7 separate regions of the Homo sapiens genome follow, and regions 1, 2, 3, 5, 6 and 7 are each linked to region 4. The links are contacts of gene promoters, found by promoter capture Hi-C in human tissues and cell types (Jung and others, 2019). All regions are on one chromosome and are shown on one strand. Each heading gives the region's core, a stretch centred on a gene start or on the middle of the fragment in contact. The rest is flanking DNA. Distances are from core to core; before and after follow the strand shown. Region 1 holds the start of MED26 (mediator complex subunit 26). Region 2 overlaps MED26 (mediator complex subunit 26). Region 3 overlaps TMEM38A (transmembrane protein 38A). Region 4 holds the start of USE1 (unconventional SNARE in the ER 1). Region 5 holds the start of CALR3 (calreticulin 3). Region 6 overlaps FCHO1-AS1 (FCHO1 antisense RNA 1). Region 7 holds the start of MPV17L2 (MPV17 mitochondrial inner membrane protein like 2).

Region 1 (3,874 bases), core at 155-2,654, 590 kb before region 4:
CTCCCCTCATACCTGGATGCTACTGCATCTTCCTACCGCCCTGCTCCTGCCGCGGGAAGAATGACCCCTACTGCCAAGAAACTCTTGGAGAAAATATGAGAATAGATCAGTCTTCCCCCCCACCCCCCCACCCCCGCAACAACACACACACACACACGGAAGGGGAGGGGGCGGTCCCTCCGCAAACAGTAGCCTCAGCAAAGGGGCACCCGAGGAAGCGACACTCTGGAGTTAACCCCGACAGTCTGGGTCAAAAACCACCAGGCTGAGACCCCCAGGTGAGGGAAAGAGCCTACTGAAACAGAGCTCTTGGGTAAACGGGAGAGAAAAGTCCTCTTTAATTCACTACCTAAAAAATGGAGCTCTGGCTTGGTCAGAGACGCAATGGGTACTGAGGCCCAGAAAGGCAACAGGAAGGATCCCACCCTCCCCGAGATCATCTATCGTCGGCAGCGACCCCAAGAGGGTTTTGGCAAAGGCGTGTCTAGTCACAGAAGGGAGACAGACTCTCCACGTACCCTAGGTACCCGGCCAGGGGCAAAACAGACTGGGGGTTCTCTCCGAAGCCAGGAAGGTGCTGCCAGCCGAGAGGAGGGGGAAGAAGGACTTCCCTGATCACCCAGGAGGCCAAGACATGGGAGACATAGGTTCCCCGAGTCATACCCCGGACACCAGTTGCTTCACAGCCCTTCTCCCTCCCCTTCCCGCTCCGGGAGGGCTTCCCGGGGGTCTCGGGTCCCGGAGGGAGGGCGAGGCAGAGAAGCTTCGTCCAGAGCAGTGAGGGTCGTAGAGCTGGAGCAGAAAGGGAGGAAAAACTCTAGCCTCAGCTCCCCCGTCTGCTTCCTCCGCCCAGGCCGCACGGAAGCCTCGGCCTCACGTACCGAGCGCTGCCGGGCTGCCCGACCTGCCCCCGGCCCGGGCCCGAGAAGCGAGAGGCAGGGATGGCAGCGGCCCTCGAGGGGAGGTGGGCGCCAGACGGGTCCCCCGAAGCCCGGTGGGCGAGGGGTACAGGAGAGGGGGAGGGTCCCGGGCCCATGCGGCCTCCGTCCCAGCTCGCGCGGCGGGTACTTACGTTGCTCTGGGGGTCGATGGCCTGCAGCAGCCGGTCCCTGATCTGCTGCGGAGACGCCGGAGCCGCTGTCATTGCCTGGGCGAGGCGGGGGGTTGCGGCCGGGCCAGCGGGCGGGCGGGCTGAGGCGGGGGACGGGGGTCACTCACTCGCCGGCCTCCGGGAGCCGGAGCCGCATGTTCCCCGCGGCGCCGGGGGGTTGGGGGCGCGCGGGGTGGCGGAGAGGGGAGCCGGGGCCGGGTCTCGGTCCCGGGCCGCCGCCGCCACCAAAGGAGGAGGAGGAGCCGCCGGAGCCGCCGCCGCTCGCTGCCGCCGCCTCGAGAACCAAACTCCAGTGAGCTGCCCCCGCGCGGAGTACTCTGGGTAGTCCGCGCCGCACGCAGCGTCGGCGCCACGCTGAGGAGGTTGGGAGATGGGGCGGGCGGAGACGCCAGGCCTGGGCGGGGCTGCCCGTGTGCCACGCCCCGCGCCTCCGCGCAAGCGCGCGCAGGCGCACTCGTCCGCCCGTGACGCCCCGCCCAGCCGCCCGGCCTAGGCAGCCGTTGGGAGGAGGTTGGGCGGGGCAACGGCCCCCGTCCAGGTCACGGGGCGGGGCTTTCTGACGGAAGCGCGCGCGCAAAGAGTCCTTGAACCCGGACGCTCGCAGCGGCTACCTCGGGGCGGGGAGGGCGGCGGGAAAATCCTTCCTCTGGGAGAGCCTTCCCGGCGCGTGACTGGGGGACGGGAGTCGCAGGCTGAGCAGCTGCCGAGTTTTTTGTGAGGGCGAGGGAACCAGACGTCCACGTTGTGATTCTGCGCGCAGAAGGGTCATCGGAGTCCGGGGGTGTCGCCGCGGCCCCCCCGCCCCTCAGAGGGTGTGGGAATGGGTGTGGTGGCAGGGCGGGGGTCTGCACCGCCACGCGCGACCCCGATCGCGAAAACGTGAGGCGGCAAAGCGCCTCTGGCAGAAGCCGCCCGCCGTAGCTGGGAAAGCCGGAGGTTGCAAATCTGCGTCTACGCGGCGGCTTCTCCACCTCGGCACCACTGGCATTTGGGCGGGATCGCTCTGTCTTCGGGGCGGGTCCCCCGATCTGTCGGAAGTTGAGCGGCATCTCTGGCCTCCGAAGCGCCCCCTCCCCCAATCTGCAGTCATTGCCGCCGTCCCTTGTGGGGGCACAGTCCCCCCGCCCCCCCACCGGCAGAGAACCCCGTGATTGAAAGACCCTTCTACCCGCCTCTGCCTTGAGATTCTGTAAAACTGAGATGCTCATTCTCTTAACCAAACACGTCACAGAGGAGGAAACGGAGGCCCAAGGTCACCTAGACTTCGGGGTTAAGCCCAGAACCGCAGATGTCAAGTTTAAGGGCGCCCCTCCTCCCTCCACCCTGTTTATTGCCTTGGTAATTGCTCCCCTCTCTCTGGGAGCTCTGTTGGAAATGCTCTTGTGAGACGGGATGGAAAGGCAAGCTCGGCGGCCTCGGGAGAAATCTTTTTTTTCCCACTGTTACAGGAAGACCTAGATTTAAAACAGGAGGAAGACAGCTGATGAGAACCACATGTGTGCCTTGGAGCTGCCCGACACCTGTTAGTCTTGTATTTGTTGTGCTTCTGGGAAATATTTTCATTTGCAAAAACGGCTGCTTCTGCACGTGGCTATGGTTGCGTGCTTCTGCACATGTGAAAAGTTTTACATCACACTTGGAGGAGAAAAGAAACACGGGCAAAACACTTGTCATTTACTGCTCCCAACCTCGCCCCTCCCAGAATGCGGTGCATTGTGTACATGGTGTACATGGTCCAAGTTGGAAACTGGCCCATTCGGAGATAATTCTCTCATTTCTGATAAGCAAAATAAGCAAAGCCTTCCTCAGGCATATTCTGGTCTTGCCTCTCTCTTAATTTCTAACTCGGATGTACAGTATCTTTTTTTTTTTTTAATAAAGTATTACATAGGAGGCAATTTATTTTGCATGGGTCAGGTTATTTTAAGAAACATTTGGGCCGGACGTGGTGGCTCAAGCCTGTAATCCCAGCACTTCAGCAGGCGGAGGTGGGCGATCACTTGAGCTCAGGAGTTCGAGACTAGCCTGGCCAACATGGTGAAACCCCATCTCTACTAAAAATACAAAAATTAGCCGGGCATGCTGGCGCGCACTTGTAATCCTGGCTACTAGAGGGGGCTGAGGCAGAAGAATTGCTTGAACCCGGGAGGCGGAGGTTGCAGTGAGCCAAGATCACACCACTGCACTCCAGCCTGGGCAACAGACTCTGTCTCAAACAAAATGTGGGGCCAGCCACGGTGGCTCATGCCTGGTAGCTCATGCCTGTAATCCCAGCACTTTGGGAAGCCGAGGTGGGCAGATCACTTGCGGTCAGGAGTTCGAGACCTGCGTGGCCAAAATAGTGAAACCCCTTCTCTACTGAAAAAACAAAAATTAGCCGGGCATGGTGGCACACACCTGTAATCCCAGCTACTCAGAAGGCTGAGGCACGAGAATTGTTTGAACCCAGAAGGCAGAGGCTGCAGTGAGCTGAGATCACGCCACTGTACTCCAACCTGGGTGACAGAGCAAGACTGTCTTGAAAAATAAACAAACATCTGGAAAGTACTCAACTTACCCACTTTTTAAAAACTAAGAAGCACTGACATGACTTGGTTCCTCAAGGGCACTGGCTCTTTTTGGTATCCCCAGTAGATAGAAAAATAGTATCTGTGGAGTAAGTCAATGAAAAGTTTCATCAAATACACGGTAGCGTTACACACACCCCCAGACATATGAATGCATTTCAGTTTCTACAGATCTGGTACACCATGGGTCTGGAGA
Region 2 (3,375 bases), core at 552-3,051, 600 kb before region 4:
ATTTCTTTTCTTTTTCCTGAGAGCTGGTTGTCAAATTTTCACCAGCACACCACTGTCTATACCTTAGTATATGCCTTATGTAAATTAGAGCTTCATTATTTTGAAGTGCTTGAAATAGAGTCTGAATGAAACTAAAGTCCATTTGCATTATTGTATTTCAACATTACATATAAATGAAAAGATTAAAGAATCTGGATTTTTTAGAAATGCCAACTCATAAATTTTTCAATGTTTACTAAAAAAAATGCTTCCAAGTTTTATCACCTTCTTGTGCAAACAAAATTTCTCCACAACAATTATCAAAGTCAAGCAAAACAGAAACAAAAACAAAACCCACACCCTAACATATAAAAGTTATGTTCTTGGACACAAGCACTCTTTAAAAAAAAAAAAAAAAAAAAAAAAAGGCAATGTTATTTCAGTAATGTTATTCAAGCCGGGTGTGGTCGCTCACACATGTAACCCCAACCCTTTGGGATGCCAAGGCGGCCAGGAGTTCAAGACCAGCCTGGGCAACACAGCGAGACCGTCTCTATAAAAAATACAAAAATTAGTGAGGTGTGGTGGCTAGCACTTGTAGTTCCAGCTACTTGGGAGGCTGAGGCAGGAGGATCCCTTGAGCCCAGTAGCTCAAGGCTGTAGTGAGCTATGATTGCGCTATTGCACTCCAGCCTGGACAAGTAAAGTTTTTAGAGCAAGACTCTGTCTCTAAAAAATAATAATAATAAGCAAAACCTTGCCTCTAAAAATAATAATAATCATAATGTTATTCAACACAAGTTCAGTATTAACTATGCTCCCTAACACCCTGTATTTTATTTTCCTTATAATTTCTTTTTTTTTTTTTTCAAGACTGAGTTTTGCTCTTGTTGCCCAGGCTGGAGTGCAATGGTGTGATCTCGGCTCACCACAACCTCCGCCTCCCAGGTTCAAGCAATTCTCCTGCCTCAGCCTCCTGGTAGCTGGGATTACAAGCATTAGCCACCACGCCCAGCTCATTTTGTATTTTTAGTAGAGATGGGGTTTCCCCATGTTGGTCAGGCTGGTCTCAAACTCCCGAACTCAGGTGATCCGCCCGCCTCAGCCTCCCAAAGTGCTGGGATTACAGGTTACAGGCGTGAGCCACCATCCTTATAATTTCTATGGTAGAAACAGCACATGCACTTTCCCCTAGTCTCGCCTCCAAATTACCCATTGCACCCTGTGGATGCCACTGTTTCCTATGTGTGCCATGACATGGAAGGCTGAAAGCAGTGTGACAGCAGGAGGGCATGGGCTCTGTATAATGGGTGGCCAGGAGAGGCCTGAAGAAGTCCGACTGTCACAAGAACTGGATGAGGGAGAAGGTTCTCCCACAAGAATGAGGGCAAGGGTTCAAGTTAAGCTGAGAAAGGAAAGAAGGGCCCAAGGCCTGTAGCATGTGTAGATCATGACAATAAGGAATGTGGGCGTCTATTCTAAGGGTGATGGAAAACCACTGAAGGATGTGAAGTGACAGTGGTGTCATCTGCTTATCGGTATGGAAGGGACAGGACCAAGAGGGAAATGGCCAGGGTTGGACTCGAGATGGAGGGCAGAGGAGGGCTGGAGAACATGCATCCTGGCAGTAGCCCCCGGGCCTCACAGGTGGAGTAGGTGACTAAGGTGAGAGGAAGGCAGAGGCATGGACCACTCCAGGGTGTTTAGCAGAGCCATGGGGTGTGGCTTCACTGACTGTGTGGAGAAAACCAGGTGTTGTCCAGTCATTTTTGGTGGGATGGACCTCTGGGAACATGAAGAACATGACTGGTGGCCTTGACTGGAGTGTTATGTTGCACACTAGTGTTCTGAACCTTCCGGAAACGTATGAGAGGGGAACTAATCCTCTCCACTGATTGCAGTACATAGAGGCCCGCAATCCACTCCACAGCCGATTGCTCTCTATAGTGCTCAAGTGCTCTTCAGGCTAGAGCAGCCTACTTTTATTTTCATTTTTTTACAGTTTAATTGAAAAGACAATGGAGCATAGGGGAAAACAAACCAACCCATTCCCCCTGCCCCAACCAACACAAGTGCTTCCATTTTACCCCAAGTTCTAGTTCTTTAGGCATCCAGCCTATCCAGATGCCTGAGTCACAAAACCACTCCTTTCCCCCTCATGGTAAGGCCTGCCCATTTTTCTATAGAGCCTTCAGAATCACGCTTTCGGCTATAGGCTATTTGACTCTGTGGATGCACCATGATTCTGAAGCTTCTCCCATGCTGTTTAAAAATAAACTTCATTAAAAAAAAAAGAAGTAAATGGAGACAAGGTCTTGTTATGTTGGTCAGTCTGGTCTTGAACTCCTTGCCTCAAGCGATCCTGCCACCTTGGCCTCCCAAAGTGTTGGGATTACAGGCGTGAGCCACCAAGCTCAGCCTGTAAATAAACTTCCAAGAGTAAAATTACTGGGTCACAGGACATGAGCATGTCTATGCCTCTTGCTACATAAATAGTTTCCAAGAGGGTGACAGTGGCTCTGAGCTCCTGCCAACAGGGTGATGCAGGTTGTTGGGGGTGGGGTAGGAGATAGGCCGGGAGAGATAAAACAGCAACCCGCTGGCTTAACATCCAGTCTTGATTACCCACCAAGGCCATTCTGCCCACATGTTTTTGTGCAAGGTATATGTTCCAGGTATCAATTACGTCAACATTTTTCTGTCCAGTAAAATCTTGGAGATCTTATGATTATGATTACTTTTTGTGTGTTTGGTTTTTTTCTTGAGACAGGGTCTCGCTCTATCACCCAAGCTGGAGTGCAGTAGCGTGATCTTGGCTCACCCTAGCCTCAGCCTACACAGCTCAAGCGATCCTCCCACCTCAGCCTCCCGAGTAGCTGGGACTACAGGCACATGCCACCAGCCCCACCTAATGTTTGTGATTTCTACTACAGACAAGGTGTCACTATGTTGCCAAGGTTGGTCTCAAACTCCTTGCCTCAAGCGATCCTCCCACCTCGGTCTCCCAAAGTGCTGGGATTACAGGCTGGAGCCACCATGCCTAGCCACAATTGTTGATTCTAAAGTATGTCTCTACACAGGAAGAATATTGGCTATTGCTTCTGAAAGGCAGCTTCATGTGCACAAAGTTGTATTTTGATCATCCCCACCTGCAACTGCAGCACAGAGAGATTTGGAAAAGTACAGGCAGCTTTTAAACCTGCTTGTGAATTTCAGCCTAAGCACCTCTTCCAAGGAAGAGGCTCTGGACCCTGACGTCTGGGATTTTGTTCTACAACCAATTTCTTCCTGTTTTCCCCCGAGGGAGCATTTAGAAATGTGTAAATTATGCAATGTTGTCTTGTAACTGCTCCTTGCTGACACTAAAGGAAAGACTACCCTTGAAAAAGAACAGCA
Region 3 (3,516 bases), core at 750-3,249, 530 kb before region 4:
TTGAAGACCTGCCTTGCAGGTGGGGACATGACTGATTCCTTTAGGTGGCTTTTGCTCTGAATTTGCCATATGATCCTCAGCAAGGCTCTGTCCTCTCTGAGCCTCAGTTTCCCCACCTGCAGCTGATGATCATACACCCCCAGGCTCAGTGTCCTTCTAGAGAAGATTCTGGGAGTGGAGAGACTGCTTCCTTGGGAATTCAAACAAGAGGAAAGGAGACCTGGGGGTGGTGGGCTTGTTCAGAAGCACCCTGTCCTGTAGGTTCTGGTGTCGCCCTCATGTCCAACTTTGAGCAGCTGCTCCGAGGGGTCTGGAAGCCAGAGACCAACGAGATCCTGCACATGTCTTTGTGAGTATCCCACTCCACCTCTCCCTCCATGCCTCCTGTATGTCCGGGTGCCTGACCCTGAGTTGGATGCTGCTGATAACTTAGAGAGGCCTCAACCCTTGACTCTGCCTTTCAGGAGCTTTCAGAGGCTATGACTGGGGAAGCTCAAAGCAGAGCCATAGCTCTGCTCAGTGTGGAGGTTGGGGAGGGCAGAGCTGCAGGAAGGAGGCAATACCTGATTGGGGTTTTGAAGGGTGAGCAGGAGTTCACTGGCCAAGAAGGAGCCTCCCAACAGAGGCCAGCATCTCTGCCAACTGTGAAATCACAGAAGAGCAGCAGTGCTGCTGGGTGTGCGGGGTCAGGGTACAGGGTATGCATGGGATATGGAGTGTGCATTGGGAGCATATCTGGAGCTAAGTGGACAAGGCCAGGTGACAGCATCCAAGACCCAATGCAGGATCCCACACTGCATTTAGCTTAATGTTTTTTATTTTTTTATTTTTTGAGACAGAGTCTTGCTCTGTCGCCCAGGCTTGAGTATGCTGGCATGATCTCGGCTCACTGCAACCTCCACCTCCCAGGTTCAAGAGATTCTCGTGCCTCAGCCTCCTGAGTACCTGGGATTACAGGCATGTGCCACCATGCCCGGCTAATTTTTGTATTTTGAGTAGAGATGGGGTTTCACCATGTTGGTCAGGCTGGTCTGGAACTCCTGACCTCAAGTGATCTGCCGACCTCAGCCTCCCAAAATACCGGGATTACAGGCATGAGCCACCCTGCCCTGGACAGTTTAGTGCATTTTTAAAAGACCTTGTTGGGGGCTGGGTGTGGTGGCTCACACCTGTAATCTCTGCACTTTGGGAGGCCAAGCCTGGAGGTTTGCTTGAGTCCAGGAGTTCAAGACAAGACTGGGCAACATAGTGAGACCTATTCTATATTAAAAAAAAAAAGTTAAATTAGCTAGGCATGGTGGGATGCACTTGTGGTCCCAGCTACTCAGGAGGCTGAGGCAAGAGGATTACTTGAGCCCAGGAATTCGAGGCTTCAGTAAGCTAGGATCATGCCACTGTACTCCAGCTTGGGTGGCAGAGCAAGACCTTGTCTCAAAAAAAAAAAAAAAAAAAGGGATCATGCATTTAAATCACCTGGCCCTGGAACCTGGTGAGTGCTTTGGAAATATTAGAGAGAATTATCATCATTAGGCTGGGCACGGTGGCTCACGCCTGTAATCCCAGCACTTTGGGAGGCTGAGGTGGGCAGATCACCTGAGGTCGGCAGTTTGAGACCAGCCTGACCAACATAGAGAAACCCCATTTCTGCTAAAAATACAAAATTAGCTGGGTGTGGTGGTGCATGCCTGTAATCCCAGCTACTTGGGAGGCTGAGGCAGGAGAACCACTTGAATCTGGGAGGCGGAGGTTGCAGTGAGCCGAGATCACGCTATTGCACTCCAGCCTGGGCAGCAAGAGCGAAATTCCATCTCAAAAAAAAAAAATTAACTAGGGGTGGTGGCATGCCTGTAGTCCCAGCTACATGGGAGGCTGAGGCAGGAGAACCGGTTGAACCCGGGAGGCAGAGGTTGCTGTGATCCGAGATCCTGCCACTGCACTTCAGCCTGGGCAATAGAGCAAGACTCTGTCTCAAAGAAAGAAACAGAGAGAGAGAGAGAGAGAGGAAGGAAGGATTATTAAATACATGCAGTGAAGCTGGGCATGGTGGCCCACCCCTGTAATCCCAGCTATTCAGGAAGCTGAGGTAGGGGGATTGCTTGAAACCAGGAATTCAAGACCAGCCTGGGCAACATTACAACATCCCATCTCTAAAAAAAAAAAGAAAAAAAAAATTAGCCAGGTGTGGTGGTGTGTGCCTGTAGTCCCAGCTACTCAGGACGCTGAGGCAGGAAGATCGCTTGGTCTCAGAAGGTTGAAGCTGGAGTGAGCTGTGATCACACAAGTGTACTCCAGCCTGGGCAACAGAGCGAGACCTTGTCTCAAAAAAAAAAAAGCAATGAGAGACAGACATCAGGAATAGAAGTCACAGGTCTGTCTTTTGCAACAAATAAAAATATCTTAAACCTATTTTGCAAGGAAAAAAATAAAAGTTAAGGAAAACTCTGCATGTTGTAATCACATTTTCTGGGGGAAATAAGCTGATGGGGGATCCCCAAGATCATCCTGATGTTCCATGATTTGCTAGAAGGACTCAGAGAACTTAGCAAAGCCATTATATTCAGGGTTATGATTTATTACAGTGACAAGATATAGAATAAAATCAGCAGAGGCAGCTCACACCTGTAATCCCAGCACTGTGGGAGGCCGAGATAGGAGGATTGCTCAAGGCCAGGAGTTCAAGACCAGCCTATGCAATAGAACAAGACTCCATCTCTACAAAAAAAAAAAAAAAACTTAAAAATTAAGCAGGCACAGTGGCACATAACTCTAGCCCTAGCTACTTGGGGGGCTGAGGTGGGAGAATCACTTGAGCCTCAGAGTTTGAAGTTACAGTGAGCCATGATCAGACCACTGCACTCCAGCCTGGGTGATAGAGAGAGACCCTGTCTCTGTAAATAAATAAATAAATAAATAAATAAATAAATAAAACGAAATCAGCAGGGGTTGGCTGGGCGTGGTAGCTCATGCCTGTAATCCCAGCACTTTGGGAGGCTGAGGCGGGTGGATTATTTGAGGTCAGGAGTTCAAAACCAGCCCGGCCGACATGGCGAAACCCCATCTCTAGTAAAAATACAAAAATCAGCTGGCGTGGTGGCGGGCATCTGTAATCCCAGCTACTCGGGAGGCTGAGGCAGGAAAATCACTTGAACCCAGGAGGTGGAGGTTGCAGGGAGCTGAGATCATGCCACTGCATTCCAGCCTGGGTGACAGAATGAGACTCTGACTCATACACAAACAAGAAATCAGCAGGGGCAAAATGTGCATGAGGCAGAGTACAGGAAAGAAAAGGTGAAAATATCCAGTTTTCCTCTCCCAGTGGAATCATGTGGACAGGGCTTCATTCTCCCAGCAGCAATGTGTGACAACATGCATGGTGTACTGCCAACCAGGGAAGCTCTTCTGAGCCTGGGTATCCAGGATTTTTATTGTGGCTCAGAACTAGCTAACCACCTGTGTGGCTGACCTCAGTCTTCAGCCCCTCTAGAGGTCCACCTGATGCTGCATGGCCCAAGACCC
Region 4 (3,456 bases), core at 780-3,279:
AAGAACAGGGCCGGTGGGTGGGGGTCTGCCCTGTGGCCTCAGCCAAGAAGGGTGCAGAATATGGGTGGAACACTGTCCTCAAAGTTCTGTCTTGATCCTCCACCAAACAGGGAGCTCCCAGCAGAGCCTCACTTGGCCAGGAGCGCCTGCTGTCCTGGCAGCCCTCTCTGGCCTCCCTGATTCAGTGCCCAGCCTCTGGAGCCTAAATGTCAGCTGCAGCAGCCACCCATCCAGCAGAGGTGGCCAGTTCCTGGTGGGCCCAGCAGGACAGGAACAGATGGGCTCCCAGGCTGCCATCGGATGGGAGTCGTGGGAACTGGCTGGCTGGTATTGGTTGGGGCACCGTGAAGAACCCAAGTTCAGACAGCACATGCCAGAGGTTGAGGGGCTTCTCCAAGGCCACACAGTTGGGAGGGGCATGGCTGGGATTTAGACTCTGCCCTGCCAGCCTCTAGAGGCCCCTTTGATGGGCCCTGGGTTTGGTCTCCATTGTTTGTTGTGGGTTTTTTTCTTGAAACACGGTCTCGCTCTGTCACCCAGGCTGGAGTGCAGTGGCGCGATCTCGGCCCACTGCAGCCTCCACCTCTCGGGTTCAAGCGATTCTCCTGCCTCAGCCTCCCGAGTAGCTGGGATTACAGGCACGCACAACCAAGCCCAGCTAATTTTTGTGTTTTTTGATAGAGACAGGGTTTCACCATGTTGGCCAGGCTGCTCTCCAAACTCCTGACCTCCAGTGATCCATCCACCTCACCCTCCCAAAGTGCTGGGATTACAGGCGTGAGCCACCGCACCTGGCCCTCCATGGTATTTTCTTTTTTTTTTTTTTTTTTTGAGACGGAGTCTTGCTTTGTTGCCCAAGCTGGAGTGCAGTGGCACAATCTCGGCTCACTGCAACATCCACCTCCTGGGTTCAAGCGATTCTCCTGCCTCAGTCTCCCAAGTAGCTGGGATTACAGGCACCCACCATCACGCCCGGCTAATTTTTGTATTTTTAGTAGAGACGGGGTTTCACCATGTTGGCCAGGCTGGTCTCAAACTCCTGACCTCAGGTGATCCATCTGCCTCAGCCTCCCTAAGTGCTGGGATTACAGGTGTGAGCCACCGCACCTACCCGTCTATGATATTTTTCAAGGACATCAGGCCCACTGGTGTAACCAAGGTGCAGATGACCTAAGGTGTGGGAAAACATGAAGGCTGCATGCCAGGCCCTGGTTCCTGTGAAGCCCCCACCCTCATCCTGTCACTCCAGAAGAGAGGCACTGCAAGGCATAGGGGTACTCAGCTTCCAGGTACTGAGGTGGGCTGGGAAGGGGTTCTCCATGGGGGTCTGGGCGTTAGGGGGGACCCAGCCCCACCTTGCTCACTCTCAGGCAGAGCTGTCTCATGTGCCCCTTGAGGCAGGTACTGTCACACTGTCCATTTCCCGGGGGAAGAAGCGGATCCAGAAAAGTTAAACTCTCCCAGGGCCGAGGATGGAATCAGAGCTGGAGCTGTGACCTGGAAACCCATAACCACAATACAGATGAGCCCTGCTGAGGTGGGGGAAGCCTTGGATTCCTGAATCCCAGGCTACAGAAATCGGGAAGGGTGTGTGGACGTGAAATAGCTCCGACTGGGAAGAATCCAGGTAGGAGTGGGGTGCGGGGAGGTACTTTGAGCAGGCAAAACAGAACAAAAGGGCACACTGCACGCGGGTCTGACACCAGAAGACCCCGGTCGTCCTATCATTCCCGAAGGGTTAACATGCTCTCGAGGAAAAGCAAGTGATTCGCCTAAGTAAGAATGGGGTGGCGCCTCTCCTATTTTTTTAAAATAGAGATAGAGTAGCGCTATCTTGCCCGGGCTGGCCTCAAGCAATCCTTTCCCACCTCTGCCTCCTAAAATGCTGGCATTACAGCCCTGAGCCACCGCGCCCGGCCCAGCGCCCCGTCTCAAAACAAGATATTACTTCCGCTCCAAACAAAGATGGGCCAGCTAACGAGCGCGGGGGAAACATCCGCCCGGAAGGCCACTTGAAGGCACTTCCGCCCTCTCTTAACATGGAGCCGGCGGAAGGGGTGGTGTAGGGCCGGGCGATAATGGCGGCGTCGAGGCTGGAGCTAAACCTGGTGCGGCTGCTATCCCGCTGCGAGGCGATGGCAGCGGAGAAACGGGACCCGGACGAGTGGCGCCTGGAGAAGGTGAGGGGATCTCGCACTGCCGCGTAGAGCCCGACTCCCGGGGGGTGATTCCTAGGGTTGGAAGCCACCTGGCCCGACTCCCCGGCCCCAGTAGCCTCTCGGGCAGCGCCCTTTCCGGTCAGTCCCGCCACGTCCACCTGTAGCTTCCGCCCCCGTCCCTGGGACTCCGCCCCTCCCCCACTGGCCCCGCCTCCTTTACGCTTGACCCCTCCCATTTGTCGGCCCCGCCCCCCCGACTCCCATGATCAGGACATGGGAAAGACCCCCGGGTGACAATCCACTTTTCCTCCCCAGTACGTGGGAGCCCTAGAGGACATGTTGCAGGCCCTGAAGGTCCACGCGAGGTGAGTGCAGGCAGCCTCAGGGCTTTCACATCAGCACGTGGCTGTGCTACTGGACATCCCAGTACCGCTATCCCAGCTGGGACCCTTCCCTGAGCTGGGGACCATGGACAGGTTTTGTTTTTCTTCTTCCTGCCTTCCAGCAAACCGGCCTCTGAGGTGATCAATGAATATTCCTGGAAGGTGGATTTTCTGAAGGGGATGCTGCAAGCCGAGAAGCTGGTGAGAAGGGGTGCCCCTGCCCCCTCAGCCCCCATCACCGCTCACTTTGGTCCCCAGGACCTGCCCCTCCAGTGACTTATCTTCCCACATTTCTGCAGACCTCCTCCTCAGAGAAAGCACTGGCCAACCAGTTCCTGGCCCCTGGCCGTGTGCCAACCACAGCCAGAGAGCGAGTGCCCGCCACAAAGACGGTGCATCTGCAGTCACGGGCGCGGTACACCAGCGAGATGCGGAGTGAGCTACTAGGCACGGTAGGGCTCCTTCCCTGGTCCCTGGGAATCCCTTGGACAGGAATAGGGGTTCTATGCTTGTAGGCAGCCAGAACCACAATACTGTCAGATACAGGAACCCTAAGGGGGTCCAGCAATCTCTTCCCTGGGTCATCACACAAGGCTGCCCAACAGAGGGGCATTGTGGCTAAGGCTTTGCTAGATGAATAGGAATTTGGTACAAGGCAAAAATGGAATGTGTCTGGTTAAGCCCCAGAGTTGGCCCAAGAGCAGGGTTTGAGTCCTGGCTTGCAACTTACAAGACACATAAGTTTCTTCAGCCGTAAAAGAGGATGACAAGTTCCTTTCTGAGCACTTTATGTGGATCAGCTCAATCTTTTAAAATATGAGTTGTTGTGGCCAGGTGCGGCAGCTCACGCCTGTAATCCCAGCACTTTGGGAGGCCGAGGCGGGCGGATCATTTGAGGTCAGGAGTTAAGACCA
Region 5 (3,486 bases), core at 986-3,485, 720 kb before region 4:
TGGCCGGGCTGGTCTCAACCTCAAGTGATTCGCTTGCCTTATCTTGACCTGCCTGTACAAAAGTAAAAGCTCATTGTGTTGTACCCTGAAGAATGTGCAGGCGACAAGATGTAATGTTTATCTCTGTATTTTTTTCTTTTATTTTTTGAAATGGAGTCTCATTCTGTCACCCAGGCTGGAGTGCAGTGGTACAATCTCAGTTCACTGCAACCTCTGCCTCCTGGGTACAAACGATTCTTCTGCCTCAGCCTCCCAATTAGCTGGGATTATAGTTGTGCGCCACCACACTTGGCTAACTTTTTTGTATTTTTGTGGAGACAGGGTTTCACCATGGTGACCAGGCTGGTCTCAAACTCCTGACTTCAAGTAATCCGCCTGCCTTGGCCTCCCAACATGCTGGGATTACAGGCGTGAGCCACCGTGCCTGACCATATTTTTCTTTTTTTTTGAGATGGAGTCTCACTCTGTCACTGAGGCTGGAGTGCAGGGGCATGATCTCTGCTCACTGCAACCTCTGCCTCCCGGGTTCAAGTGATTCTTCTGCCTCAGCCTCCCGAGTAGCTGGGACTACAGGCATGAGCCACCACACCCAGCTAATTTTTGTATTTTTAGTAGAGACAGGGTGTCACCGTATTGGCCAGACTGGTTTTGAACTCCTGACCTCATGATCCGCTCGCCTAAGGCCTCCCAAAGTGCTGGGATTACAGGCATGAGCCACCGCGCCTGGCCTATTTTTCTTTTTAATACGAAAATTAAAATGAGAAAAAGTACCCACTAACCTTTTCCTTCTGAGGGGCATGGCCCTTGATCCTCAAATGCACTTGACTAGTGTCTATTAAGAGGGGCAATTTTGGTAATGCCTACTAATAACACATTCATATAAATATAATCCAAAGAAGGTTAAATACCATTGCATATTTGACAGTGCTTCAAGTATGATTTTATTATACCAAATAAGCTGAATATGTCTCCTTGGACTTCAGGGGACCTAATACCAATAAAAGTAATAATAATGATAATAGGCCAAGCACCATGGCTCACGCCTATAATCCCAGCACTTTAGGAGGCCGAGGCAGGTGGATTACTTAAGGCCAGGAGTTTGAGTCCAGCCTGGGCAATGTGGTGAAACTCTGTCTCTAAAAAAATTAGCAGGGCATGGTGGCGCACGCTTGTAATCGCAGCTCCTCAGAAGCCTGAAGCAAGAGAATCACTTGAACCCGGGAGACGGAGGTTTGAGTGAGCCAAGATCGTGCCACTGCACTCTAGCCTAGGCGACAGAGCGAGACTCCTACTACCAAAAAAAAAAAAAAAAAAAAAAAGGAATCTTTGGCAATAAAGAAAGGAGAGAGGAGGCTGGATGTTGTGGCTCATGCCTGTAATCCCAGCACTTTGGGAGGCCAAGGTGGGTGGATCATGAGGTCAGGAGTTCGAGACCAGCCTGGCCAACGTGGACCCTGTCTCTACTAAAAGTACAAAAATTAGCCGGTCATGGTGGCGCGCGCCTGTAGTCTCAGCTACTCGGGAGGCTGAGGCAGGAGAATTGCTTGAACCCGGGAGGTGGAAGTTGCAGTGAGCCGAAATCGCGCCACTGCACTCCAGCCTGGGCAACAGAGCAAGGCTCCGTCTCAAAAAAAAAAAAAAAAAAAAAGGAGAGAAGAAACAAAAAAACAAGGAAAGGAGCCCCTTAAGTTCTACCTTTGCCTTAATGTCTTCATCTGTAAAACGGGAATAAAAGCGTTTTGGCTGTGCCACAACTACCTAGAGAGGTTGCTATGGAAATGTAACATTAGGCTCAATTTGGTCCTGATTCTACACTAACCTTTATCTTTCTCTTTATGACCATAAAACTTGCCCGACGAAAGTCTAAAATGCCCAAATCGGGAGTCATTGGTGGACTGCAACCATCGGTTTCTCCAATGCTCTGTGGGGAAGGGGAAATAACACCGGTTAGAGGTGATAATGGTTAATTTGGGCTAAGGGAAGGGTGAAGGGGACCCTCGAGGATTCGAGGGTTCGCTGCCGTGGACCCCGTGGCGACTCTGGCCAGCCTTAGGGGGCGGAGATGGGGGAGCTTACACCTCCGCCACCACGGGCGTGGCCCCTTCACCTCCGTCTAGAAATTCCTCTTGGAAATAGACGGTAGCCAGCGCCACTCGCAGCATGCATATGGCCCAGAGCTGGACCAAAGCCCGGGCCATGGGGGTGTGCACTGCGCTTCCGGTCGCCGCCACCCCTTAGCTCCCAGCTCTCTCTGCGGCTCTTCAGGCGCGTCCCGAAACTACAACTCCCGTCACAACTCGCGATTATGACCTGAGGGTCCCATTGGTCGCTGCGGCGCGGGGCACGTTGGGCCCGCCCCGGAACTACCGCTCCCATGACACCCCGCGATTGTGATTCGGGGCGCCATTGGTCTGCGGGGCGCGGTGCTTCCCGGGAGATGTAGTCTCTTCTGCTCTGGCTCTGTTGCCCAGGGCAACCGCTCCTTCAGGCGTGAATGTGGCGGCTGCCTCTGCGAATGGACGGCGTGGGAAGAGGTCGGCAGGGCTGGTGGGGAGGTGACCTAGCTGGGCGTCCGGGCTCGCGAGGGGGATACGGGGAAATGGGGCCTTCTCCGGGGCTGAGCTGGTTGGGCCGCTGCAGGATGGTCCCGCGCCTCAGTTTCCCTGTCTGGGGTCTATTGGAGCATGGTCCTGCGCGGGTCGCTTCATAGCTGGGGAGAAGAGCAGGATGGTCTCAGGGGCGCCAGGGTTTTCAAGTTTTGGTTTGTTGATTTGTAACAACTTTATTGAGCCTTCATTTACATACCATAGTGTTCGCCACTTTTAAGCTGACGACTCCGTTATTTTTAGTAAATCTACAAAGTTGTGAAGCCGTCGCCACCATCCAGCTCATCCAGCTTTAGAACTTTGCGTCAGGCCGGGCGCGGTGATTCACGCCTGGAATCCCAGCACTTTGGGAGGCAGAGGCGGGAGGATCACTTGAGGCCAGGAGATCCAGACCAGCCTGGGCAACCTGGCGAGACCCCATCTCTAAAAAAGATAAAAATAAAAAATTAGCCAGGTGTAGTGGCACGCGCCTGTAGTCCCAGCTACTCAGGATGTTGAGGCAGGAGGGAGGATTGCTTGTGTCCAGGAGGTCAAGGGCTGCTGTGAGCTGTGATCATGCCACTGCACTCCGGCTAATTTTTTGTATTTTTAGTAGAGATGGGGTTTCACCATGTTTGCCACGCTGGTCTCGAACTCCTGACCTCACGTAATCTGCCAGCCTTGGCCTCCCAAAGTGCTGGGATTATAGGCGTGAGTCACAGCACCGGCCCGATCTGCTTTCTGAGTTTATTGGTTTGCCTTTTCTTGACAGTTCTTACAAATGAAATGATAGGGTGTGTGGAGTTTAGTGTCTGGCTACTTTCTTTTTTCTTTCCTTTTTTTTTTTTTTTTGAGACAGATTCTCGCTCTGTTACTTAGGCTGAAGTGCAATGGTGCGATC
Region 6 (3,448 bases), core at 590-3,089, 530 kb after region 4:
TGTCAATATGTTTATATTGATTCCCCCAACTGTGAGCCCATGAGAGCTGCACCCTCTCCATCTTGGTTGTTTCTGGGTGCCCGCTGCCCAGGACAGGACCCAGTACCTGTACCCACACACCAGGTTCTTGGGAAATGTTGGTTGTGCCCCAGCTTGGCAGCACTGCTGGGTGACCTCGGGAATGTTCCTTAACCTCTCTGGGCTTCTCCTCTTCCCCAGTCTCAGAAATAAGAAAGTTGGCCTGAACCTCCAGGAAGAGCAGGGAGCCTTGGGCTGTTTTGGCAACTGGACCCCTGAGTTTTCTTCCCTGGCCTGTTCGGCCCCAGGCACTCCAGACAGGCCTGACCTATGTCATCCTGTCCTCCCCACCCCCTACAGCATCCTTTGGGATCTGGGCCCAGGGCAGGTGTGAGCTGTGGTACCAGCACACCCATGTCAAGTCCTGCCTCTGACGTGTGTTTGCTGTGTGACTTCCAAGAGTAGCTTGCTTTCTCTGAGCTCTGTTTCCCCTGGCCCAGGCTTGGGAGTGGAGTGTCTGGGGGAGTGTGGATGCAGTTCAGACCTCACCTGACAGGTGTGGATAGTACCAGGGCCAGGGCCCCCAAGAAGCTCCCAGGCTGGAGGGGGAGGGGGCAATGCCTAACATAACATCCCAGTCCTGGGGGATCAGCACTGGCTTGGAAGGAAAACCAGATGGGTTTTCAGGAGCCTGGGAAGCTAGCTGGAGGGCTTCTTGAAGGAGAGGACCACATAGGAACTAAGAGCTAAAGGTGGGAAGGAAATCTGGGATGCCAGAAGGAGGACTTCCTGGAGGAGGGGACCACATAGGAACTAAGAGCTAAAGGTGGGACGGGAGCCTGGGAGGCCAGAAGGAGGGCTTCCTGGAGGAGGGGACCACAAGAGCTAAAGGTGGGAAAGGAGCCTGGGAGGCCAGATGGAGGGCTTCCTGGAGGAAGGGACCATAAGAGCTAAAGTTGGGAAAGGAGCCTGGGAGGCCAGATGGAGGGCTTCCTGGAGGAGGGGACCAAACAGGAACTAAGAGCTCAAGGTAGGAAAGTTACCAGTCAGATGCACCCTGAGGTGGAACGGCTTTTGTGCCCCCTGCATTGAGGTGGGTAGAGAGAGGTGAGGACAGGAATGTAGGGAGGGCCGGACCCCATAAGCATGATGGGCTGCTGAGACAGGTTTGCAGTTTTTACCAAGAGTGCTGGGGAGTCTGGGGAGTGTTTCAAGCTGGAGAAAAAGGTGAGCAGTTTCTGTTTGAAACCCCACTGTGGGTCCCAGTTAAACATTCTGGAATTGCTACACACATGCACTTCAATGGAACAGCTGAGCACGTGAAGGTGATAGGACAGGCAAGCCTCAAAATTGGGGCTTAGTCTGAGAGGGTTCTTGGCTTCACCCAGGAAGGAATTTGAGGGCAAGTCAATTGTGTTAAACAGCAACTTTTCTTTTTCTTTTTTCCTTTCTTTTTTTTTTAAGATAGGGTCTCACTCTCATGCCCATGTTGGAGTGCAGTGCCATGATCTTGGCTCATTGCAGCCTCCAGGAGTCCTCCCACCTCAGCCTCCTGAGAAGCTTGGACCACAGGCACAGTCCACCATGCCCACCTAATTTTTTTTTTGAGATGGGGTCGTCTTGCTCTGTCACCCAGGCTGGAGTGCAGTGGCATGATCTCCGCTCACTGCTCCCTCTGCCTCCTGGGCTCAAGGGATCCTCCCACCTCAGCCTCCCAAGTAGCTGGGTCTACAGGCACAAGCCATGGAGCCCAGCTAATTTTTTGTATTTTTGGCACAGGCAGGGTTTCACCATTTTGCCCAGGCTGGTCTCAAACTCCTGAGCTCACGTGATCTTCCCACCTGGGCCTCACAAAGTGCCAGGATTGCAGGTTTGAGCCACCGCACCTGGCCTAATTTTTGTATTTTTTTTTTTTTTTTTTTTTTGTAGAGATGGGGTTCGGCCATGTTGCCCAGGCTGGTAAACAGCAACATTTTCTTCTTCTTCTTTTTTTCTGAGATGGAGTTTAGCTCTTGGAGTGTGATGGCATGATCTTGGCTCACTGCAACCTCTGCCTCCTGGGTTCAAGCAATTCTCCTGCCTCATCCTTCCAAGTAGCTGGGATTACAGGTGCCTGCCCCCACACCCAGCTAATTTTTTTGTTCTTAGTAGAGATGGGGCTTCATCATATTGGCCAGAATGGTCTTGAACTCCTGACCTCAGGTGATCCGCCCATCTCAGCCTCCCAAAGTGCTGGGATTATAGGTGTGAGCCACCATGCCTGGCCTTTTCTTTCTTTCTTTTTTTTTTTTTTTAGACAGGGTCTCGCCTTGTCACCCAGACTGGAGTGCAGTGGCACCATCTCGGCTCATTACAACCTCCACCTCCCAGTATCAAGTAAATCTCGTGCCTCAGCCTCTCCAGTAGCTGGGACTACAGGTGCCCACCGCCAGGTCTGGTCTGGCTTTTTTTTTTTTTTTTTTTTTGAGACAGAGTCTCGCTGTTGCCCAGGCTGGAGTGCAGTGGTGTGATGATAGCTCACTGCAGCCTCCAACTCCCTGACTCAAGCAATCCTCCAGCCTCAGCCTCCCGAATAGCTGGGATTATAGGCATGAGCCACCATGCCCAGCTAATTTCTGTATTTTTAGTACAGACAGGGTTTCTCCATGTTGGCCAGGCTGGTCTCGAACTCTTGACCTCAGGTGATCCACCCATTTCAGCCTCCCAAAGTGCTGGGATTACACCGCGCTTGGCCCTAAACAGCGGCATTTACTGAAATGGCCGTGTAGAGCAGCATCAGAGGTGCTGTTCCTTGCTGAGCAAGACCACTGTGCATAGGCAGTCCATCCAGAATAGTAGCTCACAGGCACAGCTGCACTCATATGTATACCCACTTTTAATTATATGCAAATGAAGGCCAGGCGTGGTGGCTCAAGTCTGTAATCCCAGCGCTTTGAGAGGCTGAGGCGGGTGGGTCACCTAAGGTCAGGAGTTTGAGACCAGCCTGGCCAACATGGTGAAACCCCGTGTCTACTAAAAATACAAAAATTAGCCAGGCATGGTGGTGTGCGCCTGTAATCCCAGCTACTCAGGAGGCTGAGACAGGAGAATCGCTTGAACCCAGGAGGCAGAGGTTGCGGTGCGCTGAGATTATGCCACTGCACTCCAGCCTGGGCAACAGAGCAAGATACCATCTCAAAAAAAAAAAAAAAAAAAAAAAAAAAAAATATATATATATATATATATATATATATATGTATATATATGCAAATTAAGGGGCAGTGTATGCAGAAACTTCCAGGAAAAGGGTGACAACTTCTGAGTCATCAGGGTTGTTGCCATGGAAAAGGGTGGTAACTTCTGCATGTTGTCATGGCAATGGTAAACTGACATGGCACACCAGTGGGCATGTCTTAAGGAAAGCCCCTTCCCTGGGGGTCTGTTTTATAAT
Region 7 (3,693 bases), core at 354-2,853, 980 kb after region 4:
GATTACCCTGCCTCAGCCTCCCGAGTGGCTGGGATTACAGGCGCCCACCACCACGCCCCTGGCTAATTTCTGTATTTTTAATAGAGATGGGGTTTTACCATGTTGGCCAGGCTGGTTTTGAATTCCTGACCTCAGGTGATCCAGCTGCCTCCGCCTCCCAAACTGTTTGGGATTACAGGCGTGAGCCACTGCGCCTGGCCAATCCCCACCTTCTTGACTGACCATTTAAAAAATGTAAGAAACACCTTTAGCTCATCATGAGCAGCACAAAACAGGCAGGGACAGGATTTGGCCCTGAGGCAGGAGAATAGGTCTGGAGGCAGGGAACATAAGGCCAAATCAAATGGAAACAATTCAGCTATGACAGGAAATATCTTCTCCATTTAAAGAGGGCATACATCCAGTAAATGACTTTGTAACTTTACTTCATCCTCTTCATTTACATAGGACGTACATTAAGTAACCAGTGAAAACCTCTAGAGGGCATTTAAACCCCAGAAAATTCTTAAACAGGTCTCTTGAGTCCGTATGCTCCACTGGCTCCCACCCTGCGGAGTGTACTTTCGTTTTCAATAAATCTCTGCTTTTGTTAAGCTTCATTCTTTCCTTGCTTTGTTTGTGCACTTTGTCCAATTCTTTGTTCAAGATGCCAAGAACCTGCACACCTTCAACAGTTAACAGCCCACAGGCAGTAGTTTGCGACTCTAGTAGAGAATGCATAGGGATTTCCATTGAAAATCATTTTTTAAGCCAGTTACGGTGGTTCACGCCTATCATCATCCCAGCACCTTGGGAGGCCAAGGCGGGTGGATCTCTTGAGGTCAGGAGTTCGAGACCAGCCTGGCTAACATGGCAAAACCCCTGTCTAGACCAAAAATACAAAATTAGTTGGGCGTGGTGGCCCGTGCCTGTAATCCCAGCTGTTTGGGAGGCTGCGACACGAGAATCGCTTGAACCCGGGAGGGAGAGGTTGCGGTGAGCCGAGATCGCGCCACCGCACTCCAGCCTGGGTGACAGAGCGAGACTCCATTTCAAAAAAAGAAAAAAAATAATTGTTCCCTACGGGAACGGTATAATTAGGATATAATTGTTTCTGGCCACAGATCACATCCCTTCTGGTTAAGTCCAGGAGAATCTGGAAATACGTAGGGCAACCAGGCCAGAAGGCGTTGTAACTGCCTAAGATTGACCAACCCTAACGCGGGAGGCGGGACGACGGTCACTGATTTGCCAGCGTGACGCCGGTCTGCGACTGGCCAGTGCCGTCCTGGGCGTGTCGGTAGGACGGGGCTGCGACGGTTTCCCATAGGCTGGCACAGAAAGGGGCGGGGAAACAAGAGTGCAACGTTACCAATCGGCATGCGGGACGTAACGCAATTCTTTTTTCCGATTGGTCCGTGAAGCTCGGGAGGTCGTTGGGGGCTCGACCTTGGGATAGAACGCCTGCCTTTTATTGGTCAATACTCTTCGGGCCGGGCAATGTGGCTCCCCGAGGCTGCCTGCGATTGGTGAACGCGTCGCGGCTCGGGGCGGACCTGCGGACTGAAGATCCTTATGCGATTGGCCGGGGAGCCGGAGGGGCGGGCAATTTGGGATCGACAGTGACTCGCGACTGGTCGGCGCGGCGAAAGCAGAGCGGCGCGCCGGTTCCTTGGTTCCTGAGGGCGATGGCGCGGGGTGGCTGGCGCCGGCTACGCCGCCTGTTATCCGCGGGGCAGCTTCTATTCCAGGGCCGCGCGCTGCTCGTCACTAACACGCTGGGCTGCGGCGCGCTCATGGCGGCCGGTGATGGCGTGCGCCAGTCCTGGGAGATCCGCGCCCGGCCCGGCCAGGTTTTCGACCCACGGCGCTCCGGTGAGGACGCCACGCTGCTTAGTCCTTCACCCCGGGCGACCTTTGATCCCGACACCCGACTGCGGGCCGTGACCCCTGACCCGTGGCCTCAGTCCCCCGCAGGACCCTTGCCCTGACCGCGCCTCTCCCCGGGTGTCTGTCTCCCCGCAGCTCTGGGTCTCCATCACCTCCCAACCCCCGGAGGTCTCTGCCCACTACCCAGGAGCCTCTGGAGCCGCGCCTCCTGGTGGGGCTTGTAGTGGAAGAATGCACGGGTGGGCTCTTCCGGTTTTCCCGGTGAGGCTGAGGCTCCGGGATGGCATTGGGCTTACCCAGGCCTTAGCCAGGGAGGGAGAGAGGGAATGGACTGAGGAACTTGCCGGCCCGACCCAGCCCCCTGACTTACACTCTTATAGCGAGCATGTTTGCGGTGGGCTGCAGCATGGGTCCCTTCCTGCACTACTGGTACTTGTCGCTGGACCGCCTATTCCCTGCGTCTGGCCTCCGAGGCTTCCCAAATGTCCTCAAGAAGGTCCTCGTGGATCAGCTGGTAGCCTCTCCATTGCTGGGCGTCTGGTACTTCTTGGGTAAGGAGCCTCCTAAGCCTAGGCTTTGCCTCTCATAGGTCGGGAGGGGTGGAGCCAGCTTTGTGTTAAGAAGGATGCAGAGGTGCATTTCCAATTTGCCCCCTGTTTGGGTCGCCCTGGACTAGGAGCCAGGTCACAGCGGGGACAGGACGGACTCGGCCGATGTGAACGCTGGCGAGTGTAGGAGGGACGAGGACTGTATCTGTTGGGGCTGCCCTGGGCGGGAGGTTGAGAGCATTTCCCAAAGAAGGGGACCACACTCAGTTGAGACATGAAGAGGGAACCAGCGGGCAGAGGGAACAGCTAATGCAAAGGCTCTGAGGCCTGAAGGAAGAGAAATTGAGGCTAGACTTAATGGGGTGCAACCGTGCCAGCCCTAGGCTCGGTAAAGACAGCGGTATTAATAGAGGAGTCTCTCATTCTCCACCTCCCAGCCCGGCTTCCTGGTCTGTGATGGAAAAGTAACACAACTCCCTCAACTTCAGGGTGTCTCCATTGGGGCACGTGTTTATATGTTTATAACCTCTCTTTCTCTCACTGGGACTGACTTGCTCTGTTTTGTCTCTACACCAGCTACCCTAATTCTCTGTCCATCCCATCTGAAAGTCCCTGTCCCTCTGCCCGGGGTGGGCGGCGTGGGCTCTCAGGGGCCCAACCCCGCCCCCTCCATCGTCAGCCCATCTTGTCGTCTCAACAGTACTTCCTGGCCTCTAACACTCTCATTTCTTGGTTTGCTTCCCAGGCCTTGGCTGCCTGGAGGGTCAGACAGTGGGTGAGAGCTGCCAGGAGCTGCGGGAGAAGTTCTGGGAATTCTACAAGGTGGGAGCACCCGCCCCTTGCACATGTCCGGCCCCGCCCCCTGATGGCCGCTCCGCCCCCGCCCAGCTCTGGCCCCGCCCCTCATCCCCCGCCTCTCCCCGCAGGCAGACTGGTGCGTGTGGCCTGCTGCGCAGTTCGTGAACTTCCTCTTCGTGCCCCCCCAATTTCGAGTCACCTACATCAACGGCCTGACGCTGGGCTGGGACACGTACCTGTCCTACTTGAAGTACCGGGTGAGTGTGGAGGGCATACCAGGCACCCAGGGGACTCCCCAGGGGGCTACACGTGTGAGCTCCAAGTGGCAGTGTAGCCAGCCACCCTGGAGGGTGGGAGTCTCCTGTGCTCCTGACAACCCACACCCAACAGTGGGCTGGCGGAGAGCTCCTCACTAGCAGTTAAGACCCAGCCGTGGCTGAGCGCCGTGGCTCATGCCTGTAATCCCAGCACTTTGGGA

Evidence for each region. Contacts are between HindIII fragments. The study calls those that stand out against the background at their distance.
Region 1: the fragment with the promoter of MED26 here is called in contact with the fragment with the promoter of USE1 in region 4 in 3 of the 25 tissues and cell types used here (dorsolateral prefrontal cortex, lymphoblastoid cells and spleen).
Region 2: a fragment that was not itself captured here is called in contact with the fragment with the promoter of USE1 in region 4 in 1 of the 25 tissues and cell types used here (dorsolateral prefrontal cortex).
Region 3: a fragment that was not itself captured here is called in contact with the fragment with the promoter of USE1 in region 4 in 1 of the 25 tissues and cell types used here (dorsolateral prefrontal cortex).
Region 5: the fragment with the promoter of CALR3 here is called in contact with the fragment with the promoter of USE1 in region 4 in 1 of the 25 tissues and cell types used here (dorsolateral prefrontal cortex).
Region 6: a contact is called between a fragment that was not itself captured here and the fragment with the promoter of USE1 in region 4, in 1 of the 25 tissues and cell types used here (liver).
Region 7: a contact is called between the fragment with the promoter of MPV17L2 here and the fragment with the promoter of USE1 in region 4, in 2 of the 25 tissues and cell types used here (heart left ventricle and spleen).

What each region holds. Positions count from the first base shown.
Region 1 is chr19:16,626,800-16,630,673 of GRCh38, forward strand. It overlaps MED26 (mediator complex subunit 26), which reads right to left and starts at 1,405. Exons shown (of 3, transcript NM_004831.5): 1 at 1,073-1,405. The coding sequence starts at 1,144. LOC105372296 (a long non-coding RNA gene) reads left to right here and starts at 1,633. Exons shown (of 2, transcript XR_936361.3): 1 at 1,633-2,449; 2 at 2,560-3,009. RefSeq lists silencers at 1,269-1,328, 1,429-1,688, 1,939-2,018 and enhancers at 1,533-2,464, 2,569-2,618. The HindIII fragment of the contact is 10,464 bases long and covers 1-3,874 here.
Region 2 is chr19:16,609,561-16,612,935 of GRCh38, forward strand. The region is part of intron 1 of MED26 (mediator complex subunit 26); the gene reads right to left. Among named protein-coding and RNA genes, the nearest start is that of MED26, 17 kb to the right of the region's middle. The HindIII fragment of the contact is 6,796 bases long and covers 1-3,375 here.
Region 3 is chr19:16,682,160-16,685,675 of GRCh38, forward strand. It overlaps TMEM38A (transmembrane protein 38A), which reads left to right. Exons shown (of 6, transcript NM_024074.4): 4 at 262-349. Among named protein-coding and RNA genes, the nearest start is that of TMEM38A, 23 kb to the left of the region's middle. The HindIII fragment of the contact is 8,441 bases long and covers 1-3,516 here.
Region 4 is chr19:17,213,328-17,216,783 of GRCh38, forward strand. USE1 (unconventional SNARE in the ER 1) reads left to right here and starts at 2,030. Exons shown (of 8, transcript NM_018467.4): 1 at 2,030-2,180; 2 at 2,475-2,524; 3 at 2,665-2,743; 4 at 2,842-2,994. The coding sequence starts at 2,079. RefSeq lists enhancers at 1,670-2,250, 2,014-2,333 and a silencer at 2,354-2,423. The HindIII fragment of the contact is 58,541 bases long and covers 1-3,456 here.
Region 5 is chr19:16,493,932-16,497,417 of GRCh38, forward strand. CALR3 (calreticulin 3) reads right to left here and starts at 2,236. Exons shown (of 9, transcript NM_145046.5): 1 at 2,108-2,236; 2 at 1,820-1,921. The coding sequence starts at 2,198. It overlaps C19orf44 (chromosome 19 open reading frame 44), which reads left to right and starts at 2,463. Exons shown (of 9, transcript NM_032207.4): 1 at 2,463-2,534. RefSeq lists enhancers at 1,500-2,000, 2,001-2,501, 2,136-2,565. The HindIII fragment of the contact is 12,389 bases long and covers 1-3,486 here.
Region 6 is chr19:17,740,711-17,744,158 of GRCh38, forward strand. All of the region lies in intron 3 of FCHO1-AS1 (FCHO1 antisense RNA 1), which reads right to left. Among named protein-coding and RNA genes, the nearest start is that of FCHO1-AS1, 9.0 kb to the right of the region's middle. RefSeq lists an enhancer at 3,150-3,444. The HindIII fragment of the contact is 3,992 bases long and covers 1-3,448 here.
Region 7 is chr19:18,191,615-18,195,307 of GRCh38, forward strand. MPV17L2 (MPV17 mitochondrial inner membrane protein like 2) reads left to right here and starts at 1,604. Exons shown (of 5, transcript NM_032683.3): 1 at 1,604-1,854; 2 at 2,250-2,420; 3 at 3,163-3,239; 4 at 3,344-3,472. The coding sequence starts at 1,668. RefSeq lists a silencer at 1,129-1,308 and an enhancer at 1,699-1,748. The HindIII fragment of the contact is 8,354 bases long and covers 1-3,693 here.